4 separate regions of the Homo sapiens genome follow, and all the other regions are linked to region 2. The links are contacts of gene promoters, found by promoter capture Hi-C in blood cells and fetal thymus (Javierre and others, 2016). All regions are on one chromosome and are shown on one strand. Each heading gives the region's core, a stretch centred on a gene start or on the middle of the fragment in contact. The rest is flanking DNA. Distances are from core to core; before and after follow the strand shown.

Region 1 (3,547 bases), core at 247-2,746, 2.4 Mb before region 2:
TCCCCCAACCTAGATAGAAGCCTGCAAGTTTCCAACATTCTGCTTCTGTTGTGGGTTTTACAGAGGGTTGGGAAAACTTTTATTATATACATAATTGTTTCCTGCTATTTGTACCTGGATGGTAGAGACTGCACGTGCTTTTCTGTGTCTCCTCCACTATTACTCCTGTAATATTATCCAGAGATTCTTTTATATCTGTGGTTATGTGGGAAAAAAAGGATTTGTTGAAAATGGCCAAACTTACTCTTACTAACTTTGCATATAATGTACTTTAAAGGATGTTCTGATACCTTTCTCTTCACTTATATTTTGAGGTAAGCTTATTCGATGTGTCACATATTACAGTTCTCTGAAGCCTCTTGCATGTTTCACATTGTGCTGACAAGATGTAGTTTTTCCCTTGATATATGTCTCGTTTTTGAATCAGAGTTCTTATTATCAAGTCTTAGTCTTTAGCTGTGCAAATGTGTCCCTTCTCCCACCTCCCCAAATAGCTTGGGCATTACTGCCAAATATTAGATTGGTGCAAAAGTAATTGCGGTTTTTGCCATCAAAAGTAATGAAAACCGCAATTACTTTTGCACCAACATAATAACTTCATACTCTTTATTGTATCGAGTATGCAGTCTACAAATTACAGTGAAGTAGCAGGCCCGGGGTGCCAGTGTCTGGAATTTGGTCAGCTAGAGAGCAGGTTGGTTGATATCGTAAGTCCAGCATCTCTGAAGACAAGTATAGGGAAAGTTAGCTAAGTTGTAAGGGATGGGCTGGGACCACAGCCCAAGCAGATCAAGTGTCAACTCTGGGAAAACACAAAGGGATGAGTCAGAGATTCAAGTGTAGAATTCCGTGGAGAGAGAGAGGGTCATGGGACTAGGGAGAGAAGCTGCAGAGTGGGGAGGATGGAAGCTTTGTTTGACAAAGCTATATGTCAAGGTCTAAACACTAGGCCTTAGAAGTAGATCAAGTAGCAACAAAATAATGGTATTTGATACTGGAATCATTTGGGGGGAAGTTATGTCCCCAGGATGGTGAAAGGGCATGGCAGGCCATGCAGAATTGATAACTAGCTTTTACTTTGTACTCCTCTCATAAGTTATTTAGGTTTCTACAAAATGTACCTACTTTGTCCGAACCTTTAAAGAGGTCAGAAGCAAAAAACAAGTGAGAGGTAGTGACGATGTTCATTTAGAGTCTGTACAGCTCGTCTGTTCAGTAATTGCTCAGTGAAGTGGAACAGGAAGAAGCTGATGGCCACTTGGCTGCACTCAGTCTGTGTGAACTGGTTTCTTCTATTTTATGATCCTGGATTATCTGTCTACAAGAAGTAGTGGAAAAAATAAATCCATTAACTCCATGTGGCCTATGGCAGATACTGGGGATTAAAAAGTACAGGGATTCCTAGCCTCATCTCAAGAAAAAGGTGACAGAAAATACTAACCTTATTGTTTGCCACCACATCATCAGAGTCAATGGATAATACTTTTTTCCCTTATCTTTTTCACATTTGATTAAGAAAAATAACTACAAGAGGTGCACAGAAAATTCGGGAATTTGTTTTTAGAAAGTTGTTACTGCTCTTTATCTGGTATGCTTTGACTATTTCTAGGAAAGTGTTGTTTCTGTGGTTGGGCTGGCACTTTTTTTTATATGATTAACTATTTCTTCACTGATGATTTTTTTCCTCAGAGTTACACGTTACATAATATATAAAGGAAACCTGGAAAATCTTAGTTAAAGCAATTTAAGAAGTGCTTTATTTTTGAGAATGGCAAAAATAAAAGAAGCAGAATGTGTTTGATCTGTATATCTATAAGTCACGTGAATGATGGACTGAGTTTAAATGTAGTTGCTTTTTCTGTATATATTATAAAGACTAGAGCTTTTGATTAAAGTTCCAAAATAAAGAAGCAGTTTGCCTATAAAGTCACTGCTGATTAGTCTAAATCAAAGCAGAAACATTATCCCCTTTGAAGAAAATTTATGAGTAAAGGGCTCAAGGATCTGTTATTACAACTTGTCCCTCAGATGTCAAAGTACCCTAGGAACCCCTATACCGGGATGTCTTTTGGAATAAGCTTATGAACCACATAAAAATCTCACTCATAGACAGTTCTTAGACAGTGTTAGAATGTGTTTTATTGTAAAACCAGTTAACTTCATAGTCACACGTGAGCTGTAAGCTGTCCCTTGCCATTTAAGTAGTACTAATGGGGATGTCATTTACAGTAATAGCTCTCTGTTTTCTCTAATTAAGGGGCTCTTTGTGGTTTCATTTTATAATAAAAACATGGATCTATGCTTTCATAACTTCATTTCACTTGCTTTGTTTCTACCCTTAGATTTGTTTTCAATTTCAGCTCAACACATTTAAAAATTGTCCATTCAAAGAAATTGGTTAAAAAATTGTAGGTATTGTATTAGTTTACTAAGTATGTTTCCCTCTCCCATAACAATTAGAAAATAATTCTTGTTTCTATTTGCTTTTTTATTGTGGTAAAATATACATAATATGAAACATAATTTTACCCATTTTAAAATGTATATTCAGTGATATTTAGTCCTTTTTTTTCTTTTTTTTTTTTTATTATTTTGAGACAGAGTCTCGCTCTGTTGCCCAGGCTGGAGTGCAGTGGCACAATCTCGGCTCACTGCAGCCTCTGCCTCCTGGGTTCAAGCGATTCTGCTGCCTCAGCCTCCCAAGTAGCTGGGATTACAGGCATGTGCCACCACATCTGGCTAATTTTTGTATTTTTGTAGACATGGGGTTTCACCATGTTGGCCAGGCTGATCTTGAACTCCTGACTTCAGGTGATCCACCCGCCTTGGCTCCCTAGAGTGCTGGGATTACAGGTGTGAGCTACCACACCCAGCCTTTTTAATTTTTTTACAGGATAACCCATTACTGACAGATGTTTTTTCACTGGATAATAAATGGAGAGATCTGAGGTTACTCAGAAATACACTTTTAATAAGACTTTGAACACCATATGTTAGTTGATGAAATAAGAATATAGCAAGGCACCTTAATCTGCTATTTCATTTTGCTTTCCCTCCCTGAAAAGAGCTCGTATCATAATTTACTGTTCATTGATTCATTAATTTAACAATATTTAAGACTCTCTTATCTGACAGTCTACCTTAGTAAAAAAAGGAAAACGACCTACCATCTAGGGATCTTACCTTTAGACTTGTGTGTAGGGTGTTACACAAGAAGACAATCAATTATAATATATTGTGGAAATGTCTAGAAGGGTGAAAACTGGAATGTAAAATGGAAGTCTAGAAAACTGGAATGTAAAATGTCTAAGCCTCTCTAGCAGAGACGAGCAAGTTTTACCAGAACTTGGTGAAGAGTGAGAAGGCATTTACCAGCTGGGAGGCCTAAGTGGGAGCAGACTAGTCACACTGAGCAAATAGCACGTCCCAAGGGGTAGCATTTGGAGCCACCAGGGTGTCAATGGTGAGTGGCAGTGGGTTTTCAGTGGTGGTGCTCTGGTGTGTGTGTGTAGAAGAAGATGGCGGGCAGGCTAGAGGGCAGCTGGGA
Region 2 (3,395 bases), core at 896-3,395:
CCAAGGTGTGGGATTACAGGTGTGAGTCACTGTGCCTGGCTGAGCATTTTTTCATATATTTGTTAGTCATCATCATGTTTTCTTTTGAGAAATGTCCATTCAGGCCTTTTGCTCATTTTTAAATTGGATTTTTTTTTTTTTTTTTTTGGCTATTGAGTTGACTTCTTCATATACTCTGGATATTAACCCTTTGTCAGATATATAGTTTGCAAATATTTTCTCCCATTCTGCAGGCTGTCTTTTCACTCCGTTGATTATACATATTATGTATTTACTTATCTTTCATTGTCCACCTACCCCACTATATAGAGTTTAACTTGGATATTTTCCCAAAGTGTTAAAAAGAAAGATGGAAAATGGGAGCCAGAAATAGAAAGCCCACTGAGTACTACAGTTATCACTGAGAAAGAAGAATGAAAGTTATTACTGAAAAATAAAACTGAAGAAACCTCTCAGATGGGCCTGGTGCCTGGGTCCATGGGGACAAAAGTGGAACATCAGTCTAGCAGTCTAGTCTGGTGCTGGGGAAGACCTAAAGCCTGATTCTTCAGAGGCCATCATGGAGGCTGGGTTTGTGGGTGGTAGCCTGTAGGCTAGGCCCTCTGGGGTAGTTCTGGTGCCAGGGTCTACTGGGGTAGACCTGGACCTTGGGTTTGTTGGAGCAGGCCTGGAACCTGGGTTCACTGGAACCTGGGGCTGTAGGGACCAGCAGTCAGTGGACCTAAAGCCTATATCCACTGGTGCCAACCTGGAGACTGGGGCTGTAGGGCCCAACCTGGTGTTGGAGCCTGGTGCCTGAAACTATGGGGACCAACATGGGGAATGGAGTGGGCATAGATCTAGGCGCCATGGAGATTAGCCTAGCATTGGGGTGATCTTGGAGTCTCAGTGAAATGGCTCAGTGATCTTGGAGTCTCATTTTATAACAAACTAGAATTAAATACAGTACTTCTAATAATGACTTCTTCCAATTAGTCCAAACTGGGCTCCCACTTATTCCCTATCATACACATCTCCGTATCGTAAAACTATCCTCCCTGTTCGGCGCGTTGGCACATTCTGTTCCTCCGACTAGAATATTCCCTGTACTTATTCAAATCATACCTATGACCACTGCAGAACTCCAGGAACATGACCATCCCATCTAAACCCCTGCGTTCAGAGACTTGACCAAACTCTAGCAAGCTTTAGCAGCATAAGGCCCTGTGCCCAGGGCGACTGCCTCAGAAAGCTTAACTACGTGATGTAACCAGCACACAACTGATGATAGGTCTCTGACATCCCTTTCTTAGAACGTTTACTAAAGGGCTTGCAATTGTAAAGACTTATTTCTTGCCACTCAGAAGTTCTCTCTCAAGGACCAGAGAGTCATTCCTTTGAAATGTAATCGAGAAGGATAAAATCCTCCGTAGGAGGATAGAATCCTGCGGTAACTGTTAAAACGCGCGCACACACAAACACACAGCTGGCCTAATCACATTTACACTAACAACTCTGTAGGTTCACTTTCTCTACTGAGCGCCCGCATATCCCCTTTCTCCTTTTAAAACGTCCCTTTAAAAATGCCCAGATGATCTCTGCACGAATCGAAATAGAGCTCAGCTCTTTCCTGTCAGTAGTTAACTGAATGTTTTCACCGCTTTAACGTCCAGCTGCGCTTATCTTTGACATCGACTACCTAAGGTCTACCTTTAGTCCCACGACTCTGACAAAATGATCTCAATATTGGTGTAAAATCACCTCCCCTTTCAAGGGTCTTCCAAAGCACTTCCTGTCTGCGGCATACAAAATGTATTGGCACGGAATTTTAAGCTTACTGAGCTTTATAAACACGTCACATTCACACATTCAAGACACACACTGGATATTCGGATAAAAACAAACAAACAAAAAACTGGCTAAATACCCATTCCCCTCAATAACTTGGATAAGATACCTAAAAAAGGTCGACCTTCGGTACCTTTCTGTCTTCTCCCCTCTCGCTATTTGCCTACACTGGCTTCCTCACCTCCACTTTTTCTCACGTTTATCTGAGCGAAAACAAGCACGGTTCGGCAGCCTCCTTTCCCAGCCCTACCTTTGTGCTGCAAAAGCGAAAATTCAAAAGCCAAGTACAATAGGAGACCGCCCACCCTGGCTCCCTCGTGACACGAGGGAGCGCGAAGCGGAGGGCGCCTCGCGGCAGGAGCGGGATTTCCGGGGTCACGGGAACCGGCAGGGGAACGGGATAAAGTTCCCGGAGAAAGGAAAGGAGAGCGTGGGATAGTAAAAGAGAAGACGCGGAGAAGAGGAGAGGACCTACAAGAACGGAGGACAGGGGCGCACGATGGTCCCGGGGGGAGCGGAAACAAAGGCACGCAAAACGGAAAAGCGTGTGTAGGGGAGCGGAAAAGGAAGTCACCACCGTGGCCTGCGACGGTAAGTGGTCGTAAGGGTTGGTCTTAGCGCTTCAGTTTAGTGTTGTCAGTGGGAGAATCCTAAAATGTCGCCGTGGAATGGACTGTACCGCTCGCTTCTCCAAACGTGTCCCAGACGGCGAGCCTCCCCGGCTCCGCGGCTTGTCCCTTGCAAGCGCCGCGCAGGCCTGCCCCGCGCTGGACGTGGAGACGCGGTGCCGAGCGCCACGGGCCGGCTGTGCGCCGGCCGGGGAAAGAGGGCGAGGGGAAGAGATGAATCGGTCTTCCCAGAGCGCGCCGCGAGGTCGCGAGATTACACTTTAAAAAGCATGAGGAGGCTTGCTTTCTACATGCTGATTTAATTTCGGAATACATTCGAGGCCCTGTGCTAAGTTAGGTAATGTTCCCTATAATTGTCTTTTATGTATAAGTTGTCTTGCCTAACTAAAACTTTTCTTACTTGTATCGTGCAGCCAACTTTTCAAGAACGAAAGATGAGCAACTCCTTTCTGGTAGAGGTTCTTTCATTGGAGAATTTTTGAGCTACAATAATCCTTTTAACGCTGCGCACACATACAGGGATTACACGTGTAGGGGATTAAAAACACAGTTAAGTTTAGGTTGAAGGTGCTGTTAAGGACTTCAGGCAACATTAAATCAACACTCAGTTCTTTGCTCTGTTCCACATCTGGGCTCCTGTATAGCAGTTGTTGCTCTAGGTGCTAGAGGTATGCAGAGGAACTGGACAAGGGCAAGGAAAACAAAGGGCTCCTTCTTTAGAAGAGCTAGCATTCTCTTGGAACAGACAAGCTTGTGGTGAGAAGTATATTTGTGAAATCTACGAGGGGAGGGAGCAGCGCAGTAATAGAACGGGCGATCCTTTCTTGATTTTTTATTGGGTTCTGGCCTGAAAGGCGACTGTATAATCAGCTGGGATTCCTGCAATGATTAACATTCCAGGAAGGGAAGCCAGCCTGTGAAGAAGCATGGCATTGAAAC
Region 3 (3,514 bases), core at 616-3,115, 2.0 Mb after region 2:
AAAGGTATTTCATTGGCTGTACAGGAAGCATGGCTGCAGAAACTCACAATCATGGTAGAAGGTGAAGGGGAAGCAGGCATCGTCTTCACCTGGCAGAGCAGAAGAGAAAGAGAGCAAAGGGGGGAAGTGCTACACACCATTAACCAGATCCCATGAGAACTCACTCACTATCACAAGAACTGCAAGGGGGAAGTCTGCCACCATGATCCAATCACCTCCCACCAGGCCCCTCCTCCAACTTTGAGGATTACAGTTTGACATGATATTTGGGTGGGGTCACAGAGCCAAACTATATCACTCCTTAAACCTCAAATGCCTCCTCCTCTATTCACAAACATTCTAGCCTCCTTTCTTCCCAGAGGCCTAGCAAGATTGCACTCCACAGGCCCCCTTTGAAGTTAGACGTGGCAGTGTTACTTATTTCACCAATGATACGTAGACAAAAGGTCATATATCACTTCCAGAGACAGGCTTTAAGAGCCAGAGTGCCACTTTTCTTTTTTCCAATTTTGGCAAAAGAGAGCAAAGAAAGCCTCCTAGCTCCCTGAGTAAGGTTAGAGCAAGCAGCATCCTCTAGCTGATCTACAATAGACACTTAGCATGAGAGAGAAATAAACCTTTGATGTGTTAAACTGCTGAGATACAGGAAATAAGGAGGTTGTTTGTTATTATAACATCCCAGCCTATACTTTGCTTCCTAATTTGGTGAGAAAATAGAAGCAATCAGAAGAGAACTTCTACAACCTCCCATGACCACATGTGCGACTGATTAGTCACCCTATACTCTGTCCTCCTCCAATATTTGAATGAATTCTCCATATTCCTATCTAAAGCCCATCTTTTATCTTGTACACCAGATGGGAATATTTTTCCTTACTCAAGGCCGACATTCAAATATTTCTCTTCTTTGTCTCTTACATAATCAATGTTTCCCTTTCTACTAGATCCCCTTCATCAGTAAACATACATAATATCTCCTGTTTTGAAACAATCTCTCCACTAGTTAACAGCACCCCAACCCCATCTCCAATGTGCTGTAATACTTGCTCCTATTCTCTTCGGAATTATCTCACTAGGTTCTGCTTGGCCCACTACACTGAAAACTGCTTTTGTCAGGGTAACCAATAATATTGAATTTACTAAGTCTGGAAGTCAAACCTTGGTCCTCACATTGACTTGGTTGACCATATTCCTTCCTTCTTGAAATATTTTTGTACATGGCTTCCAGGACACAACTATCCTACCTACTAATCCTCTTCCTACCTCACTGGCTGTTCCCTCTTGATCTCACAAAGCCTAAATGTTGGGGTTCAGGTCTTGGGTGTCTTTTCTTCTTCATTCACACCCTCTTGCCAGGTGACCTCATCCAGTTTCATGGTTTTACACTGTCAACTGAAGAATAACGAGGTTCATAAATTTAGAAAGGAGAGCTTTATTTTTCATAAAGAGTACTGAGTGTCAAGTATGTGCCAAGCAAGGTGTCTGCCACTGACGGAGCAATGCCCAAGCAGCGGACACCAAGGCCAAGAAGGCGAAGGCTGGACAGAAGGTCCTGAGAAAACCGTGAGAATATGGAGGAGGGGGAGGAGGAATAAGAACAGGAGGAGGAGGGGGAGGAGGAATAAGAACAGGAGGAGGAGGAAGAGGAGGGGGAGAGAGGAAGAGGGGCAGGAGGAAGAGGAAGAGGAGAAAGCGGAAGTGGGGGAGGAGGAGGAGGAGTTGGAAGGGGAGGAGGAAGAGGGGGAGCAGGAAGAGGGGCAGAAGGAAGAAGAAGAGGGGGAGGAGAAAGAGATAGAAGAGTAAGAGGAGGGGGAAGAAAGACAAGGGGAAGGGGAGGAGGAGGAGGACGGGGAGGAGCTTCGCCGCGGCCTGCTCCGCCCAGCCGGGGTCGGTGGCCGCATGGCTTCGGTCTCCTCTGCGACCTTCTCGGGCCACGGGGCTCGGTCCCTACTGCAGTTCCTGCGGCTGGTAGGGCAGCTCAAGGTGAGCGGGCACCAGGCCGGGAGGCCGCGGCCGAGCGGGCGGGACTGTGGGGCGGCGGAGCTTCCGGCCTCCCCGCTCGGCCGGCGGTCTTTGCCCTTCCTGCGCCGCGTCCGCCACGCCGAATTCCGGAAAGGCCCCAGTCCTGCGGATGCGGCCGCGCGTTGCCGACGGTGGACGGAGGAAGCAGCCGGCGGGACAGGCTGGCCAGCTGGGGCGGCCCGGAGTCTGAGCCTAGAGCCTGGCGCCGCGAGGTCCGCACTGCAGCCGCGCCAGTTCCCGGAGAGCAGCCGGCCTGGCCCTGCCTGCACTGAGCTTTTCCGGGGCTCACGACCCCAGAACTCGTGTGTGTGTGTGTGTGTGTGTGTGCTCACGACCCCAGAACTCGTGTGTGTGTGTGTGTGTGTGTAAAGCGCGGCTGCTTCTGAGCACGGGTGGGAAGAACAGAATCTGTCGGCTCCTCAGATTTTAAGTGGAGCTTTTTATGTCTGTCTCACAGTTACTTCCAGAAACAAGACTTTTCTCCCGGCCACCCCCCAAACGGGATTTAATGTAATACACACGAGTTTCATCATGTGCGTCTTCCCCGTCTCTCTCCCAAGTTCAAAGTAAATTATCCGTTTCATGCCACTCTGACTACTATTTATAACATTCCTTAGAGATGTAGAATTCTGAGGAAGAAATGCAGTTTCACAAGATGAAGTTATGATGTGAATAAAAGGAAGAGTCACGGCTGGTAGCATCAAGCAATTAGAAGTGCCCTTATCCCTTGTGCCTCAGAATTTGGAAGCCTATCACTCGTTCACGTTCAGACCCTTCAATACAGTGTTTTCTGCTTGTGTAGGATTATTTGAAGGCAAAAAGCCGCAACTCTTGTTCGGAAAAATGCAGTTTTGTTTTTGTTTAAAGGACTTGCATATGTTCCATAATTATACATCAGTAACAGAATAATTTGACGAATGGACTTTGTGACTTATCTCTCTCTGTCTTCTACCCCTTTCATTCTCTGAGCTCTCTAGTTCATTTGATTCCAGATGTCTATCATTTTAGCTAGTTTAGCAAAACATTTTGTAATAGGTTCTGAAATTATGACCCGGCTTCTGTGTGTTATATCCTGGACATCTCTTGAAGAGCATAGCAGATAGTTAATATTTGTTCTTTAAAACTTCTTTTTCTTCTTCATATTTATCAGAGAGTCCCACGAACTGGCTGGGTATACAGAAATGTCCAGAGGCCGGAGAGCGTTTCAGATCACATGTACCGGATGGCAGTTATGGCTATGGTGATCAAAGATGACCGTCTTAACAAAGACCGGTAAGCTGAGCTGGACTTTGATGCTCGTGAGAGATTCTGGTCTATGGGTGTGCACCCGTTTTTACTACTGAGACCCATGTCAAATCCTTGTAGGTTAGTTTATAGGTCAAGAAAAATTATTTGAAGCAAACCATACAAATTTAGGATGTGGGTTATGTTGCCTCAGTTGTTGTAAACTGCAATCTGGGGTTTCTGTTGGCAAGTGATAGAGCCTGCCTAG
Region 4 (3,484 bases), core at 420-2,919, 2.7 Mb before region 2:
AATAATTTCGTACTCAGTGAAACAAAATTACAGTCTTAGAACCAAAAGGGACTACTTACTCGGACTATACATAACTATACAGCTAAGAAACTATATAAAATTGCCTTACACTTATCAGACAGTAAAATGAACAGCTCATATAAAAGACAAATCTCAACTAAAGGTCTTTTCCATTTCTTCAAAGTTTTAAACACATTTCAACTTAGCAGTTTTCTTAACATTCAAAATAAAGTCATCAGCTGAGACTCGTTAATTAAAAATTGATCAGAGGTACAGACACCGATAAATGCAAAAGCAAACAATTGTTTCCAATTCAGGGAGCGATCAATCTCAAATCTCTGAATAAAAGCAAAGTGTCTTTCCCATATAACTCATGTCGGATGGAAGTTACAGGGTCTGAGTCCTCAGAATTCATTGCTTCGATTTACTAAACTTTCAATTTCTGATCAGCATCCTTTCACACAACATCTGGCTGCTCGCTCAGGTCCTCTAATTACTTCCACGTCTGAACGGACTACGTAGCTACGAGTAAAGGCCAAACTTTGCTCTCGGCCTTCCGAACTTAAAAGACGCGTTCAACCACTAGAGGTCTCCCCTTGGCCAGTTTTGCACGTTCGCTATTTTGCTGCACTTGAAACTTTCCGGAGAAATGCTCTCTACTCGAGTCAGTGTTTTTCTAAAAACTTGCGCAAAAATCCACGCGACCGAGATAGCCAGCATAGAGCCTCTCGGACTCCCTAAACCAATAAAGACATCACAAACAACGCTCTAGGAAAACCAAAAGGAGAACTGGACGCACTCGCCCCGGCCGCGCCCCCCCACCCCAAATTCTTATTTCTCATCTCAGTTTCCCCTAACCTAACAATTAAAAATCTATTTTTGTTTCTGTGCACTCTGAATGATCTCGAATGCATTTTTCTGGCGGTGGCCCCGAGGTGGAGAAGCGGGCCAAGGGATGCGAGGCGTTGGGGGTGGGGGCGGTGAGGGGGAGGGCCGTGCTCACAGCGCCCGAGGAAGTTGCCTAAGGAAAGGGACTCCGTTTTTCGGGTCCCCTCAAAAAATCGGCGGGGAGGGGGAGGAAAAGGAAGCGGGGTGGTGGCAGCAGGGGGACTCAGAAGGGAAACCGAAGCAACGTTTACCTCCGTCTCCCGTGGAAGGGTGGGGTAGAGCCGCGGTCCCCGCGCCCTGGAAAGCGGCTAGTTACCCCCACCTCCCTCTGAGCGCGACGGACAGACCGACGCCCCCAGCCCTCCGCGGGGACCCGGGAGGAACACGCCCGCTTTTAAACTTTCTCTCACGGTCGCGCTGCGGGCTGTGCTTTGACCGGGACTGGGGGAGGGGGGAATCGCAGGGCCTTTTTTTCTTTAAAGGTAATTAAAGTTTTACCACCAGTCCAAAAGTTGCGCCCTCCCCCCGCCCGTGCCACCGTGCCCTCCTCCCCTTCCAGGGCTCTCAAGTTTTTCTCCCCGCCCGGCGGCCCCCACACTCCACCAGCTCGCGGGGCGCGCGGCGGATGCCTCGGCTCCTGCGCTTCCCGATCCCCACCCCCGCCGGCCTCTACTTCCCCCCGCCCCGCCGCCGCGGCGCGAGGACGGCCCGCGGGGCCCAGGACGCGAGTGTGCAAAGCCCATTATTCCGGAACCGCACACACACGCGGCGCGAGGCGGGCGGTGGCCCCGGCGCCGGCCCCGGCCCCGACCCCTCTTTTCCTCCCCAGAATAAGGCAGGCGTAAACAAGTTGCAGGAAAAGCAGCCCCGCGCCGCCCCCACCCTCCCCCCACAAGCCCGCCGCCCCGGCGCGGCCGCCGCCGCCGCGACCGCCGCCGCCGCCTCCCGACACACGCCCGCGCCCGCGCCCGCACCCGGGCCGGCGCGGCGCGGCACGGCGCGGGGCGAACGCCGCGACGGCGCGGGCTCCCGGCCCGGCCCGCGGCCCGCGCCCTCTCCCGCGCGGACGGCCGCCGCGGGCCCGCGCCGCCTCGCTTCCCAAAGCACTTTCCTGCCTCGGGCAGAAATAAACCGGAGGGTTTATTTTTGTGCAACTTTCCCAAAATGGCGGAAATTGGAGCTGATCTATATGAAATTCTCACACACTCGGTTGGGAAGAGGGAGGCGGCGAGGAAGCCACGCAAACTCTCGGCCGCCGAGCCCCGCCGCGGGTCCGTGTGTGTGCGTGCGTGTGAGTGTGCGTGTGCGCGGTGGGAGTCGGGCAGGCCTTTCCGCCGCGCACACACACAGCACACGCCGGGGAGACGCGCCTGCACATTCAACCAGTCCATTCTCCGCAGCCCGAAAGGGGAGAAAGTGGCCCGGCCTCTTTTCCCACTGCCTCGGTCTCCCGTACTTGTACTTCTCGCGCTCGCCCGCCCGCTCGCTCGCTCTCCGGTGCGCGCCCGGCACAAAGGCCACACGGGCGGAGGGGGCCGCAGGGGCGGCGCGCGGGGCTCGCGCCTCCCGCCGCACCGATCCGCGGCCCCGGCCGCCCCCGCGCCCCCCGCCGGCGCCCCCCGCCTCGGCGGCCGCGCTCGCCGCCTGGGCTGCGGCTCCGCGGCGCCCACCCGGACACGCACCCCGGTGGAGCCCGGCGCCGCCGCGCTCCCCCACCCCGCGCCCGGTGTCACGAAAGCGACCAAAGTGACAAGCTCGGGGGGCGCGGGGGAGGGGGCCACACGCATCCCGCCGCCTGCGCGCCAGCCTGAGCCCAACGCGGCCGCCTCGCCCCGGCTCCCTTCCGCACGGCCCCCCACACCCTTCCCCGTGTGCGCGCAAAGAAAAAAATACAAGTCTCTCCTCCCCCCATTTTTTCCTTTCTCTTTTCTCTCTCTTTTGTTCCTCTTTCACACTCGCACTCACTACTTCAGAGTGAGATGCCCAGAGACTCCCCCTCCAGCCGTTTCCGAGTCACTTGCCCACTTTTTTCCCCGGGATTAAGTTTTCTCCTCTTTCCCAGAGGCGCAGAGAAGTGGGGGAGAAACCCCTTCTGTCCCTCCCCTCCCCTGATCTGTTTCACAAGACGAGGGTGCGCTTCCTTCCCTCTATAGGGCTCTTAACTTTCATCCTCACCCAGAAAAATAAATGAATGGCTTTTGCACGGACAAATCTTCAGATTAATTAGAGATTAGATCCGATCAACCGCTTCTTACCCCCAAATTTTCTCTTTTTTTTTTCTCCGTCTCACGAGTAGTCCTGACAAATGGTCCAGGGCTGCGGGCGCAATGCGCATGTGCGCGTAGAGTCAGGGCTGGGGAGAGGGGAAACTGCGCTGGTGCCGGTGCCGCCGCCGCCGCCGCCGCTGCCGGGGAGGCTCGCTCTGGCTTCCCTGTTACTGCTGCTGCGCCTTCGCCGCTGGAAAGCAGCAATAAAGCCGGGTGGCAAATGCAGCTGCCCGCAGATCCTGTTTCAGGTGCATCTTTTCAATAGCCCGGTCACCGCCTCAGAGCTGGTTCAAGAACAGTCCAAACAAATAGGAAACACTGCTAAGGTT

Evidence for each region. Contacts are between HindIII fragments. The CHiCAGO score rates a contact against its expected background, and 5 or more counts as called.
Region 1: a contact is called between a fragment that was not itself captured here and the fragment with the promoter of ECHDC1 in region 2, in 1 of 17 cell types (non-activated CD4 T cells). The highest score is 6.6, in non-activated CD4 T cells.
Region 3: a contact is called between the fragment with the promoter of HDDC2 here and the fragment with the promoter of ECHDC1 in region 2, in 2 of 17 cell types (total B cells and naive CD8 T cells). The highest score is 5.3, in total B cells.
Region 4: a contact is called between a fragment that was not itself captured here and the fragment with the promoter of ECHDC1 in region 2, in 2 of 17 cell types (fetal thymus and non-activated CD4 T cells). The highest score is 8.1, in fetal thymus.

The regions. Positions count from the first base shown.
Region 1 is chr6:129,742,093-129,745,639 of GRCh38, reverse strand. No RefSeq gene overlaps it. Among named protein-coding and RNA genes, the nearest start is that of ARHGAP18, 34 kb to the right of the region's middle. The HindIII fragment of the contact is 1,169 bases long and covers 912-2,080 here.
Region 2 is chr6:127,342,359-127,345,753 of GRCh38, reverse strand. It overlaps ECHDC1 (ethylmalonyl-CoA decarboxylase 1), which reads left to right and starts at 2,145. Exons shown (of 6, transcript NM_001002030.2): 1 at 2,145-2,418. RefSeq lists enhancers at 239-1,112, 1,987-2,860. The HindIII fragment of the contact is 1,394 bases long and covers 1,815-3,208 here.
Region 3 is chr6:125,300,318-125,303,831 of GRCh38, reverse strand. It overlaps HDDC2 (HD domain containing 2), which reads left to right and starts at 1,865. Exons shown (of 6, transcript NM_016063.3): 1 at 1,865-1,983; 2 at 3,173-3,294. The coding sequence starts at 1,900. RefSeq lists a cis regulatory region at 162-342 and a silencer at 1,836-2,175. The HindIII fragment of the contact is 13,888 bases long and covers 1-3,514 here.
Region 4 is chr6:130,018,324-130,021,807 of GRCh38, reverse strand. L3MBTL3 (L3MBTL histone methyl-lysine binding protein 3) reads right to left here and starts at 3,227. Exons shown (of 23, transcript NM_032438.4): 1 at 3,144-3,227. RefSeq lists an enhancer at 888-947 and silencers at 1,308-1,377, 1,428-1,667, 2,618-2,747. The HindIII fragment of the contact is 3,997 bases long and covers 1-3,484 here.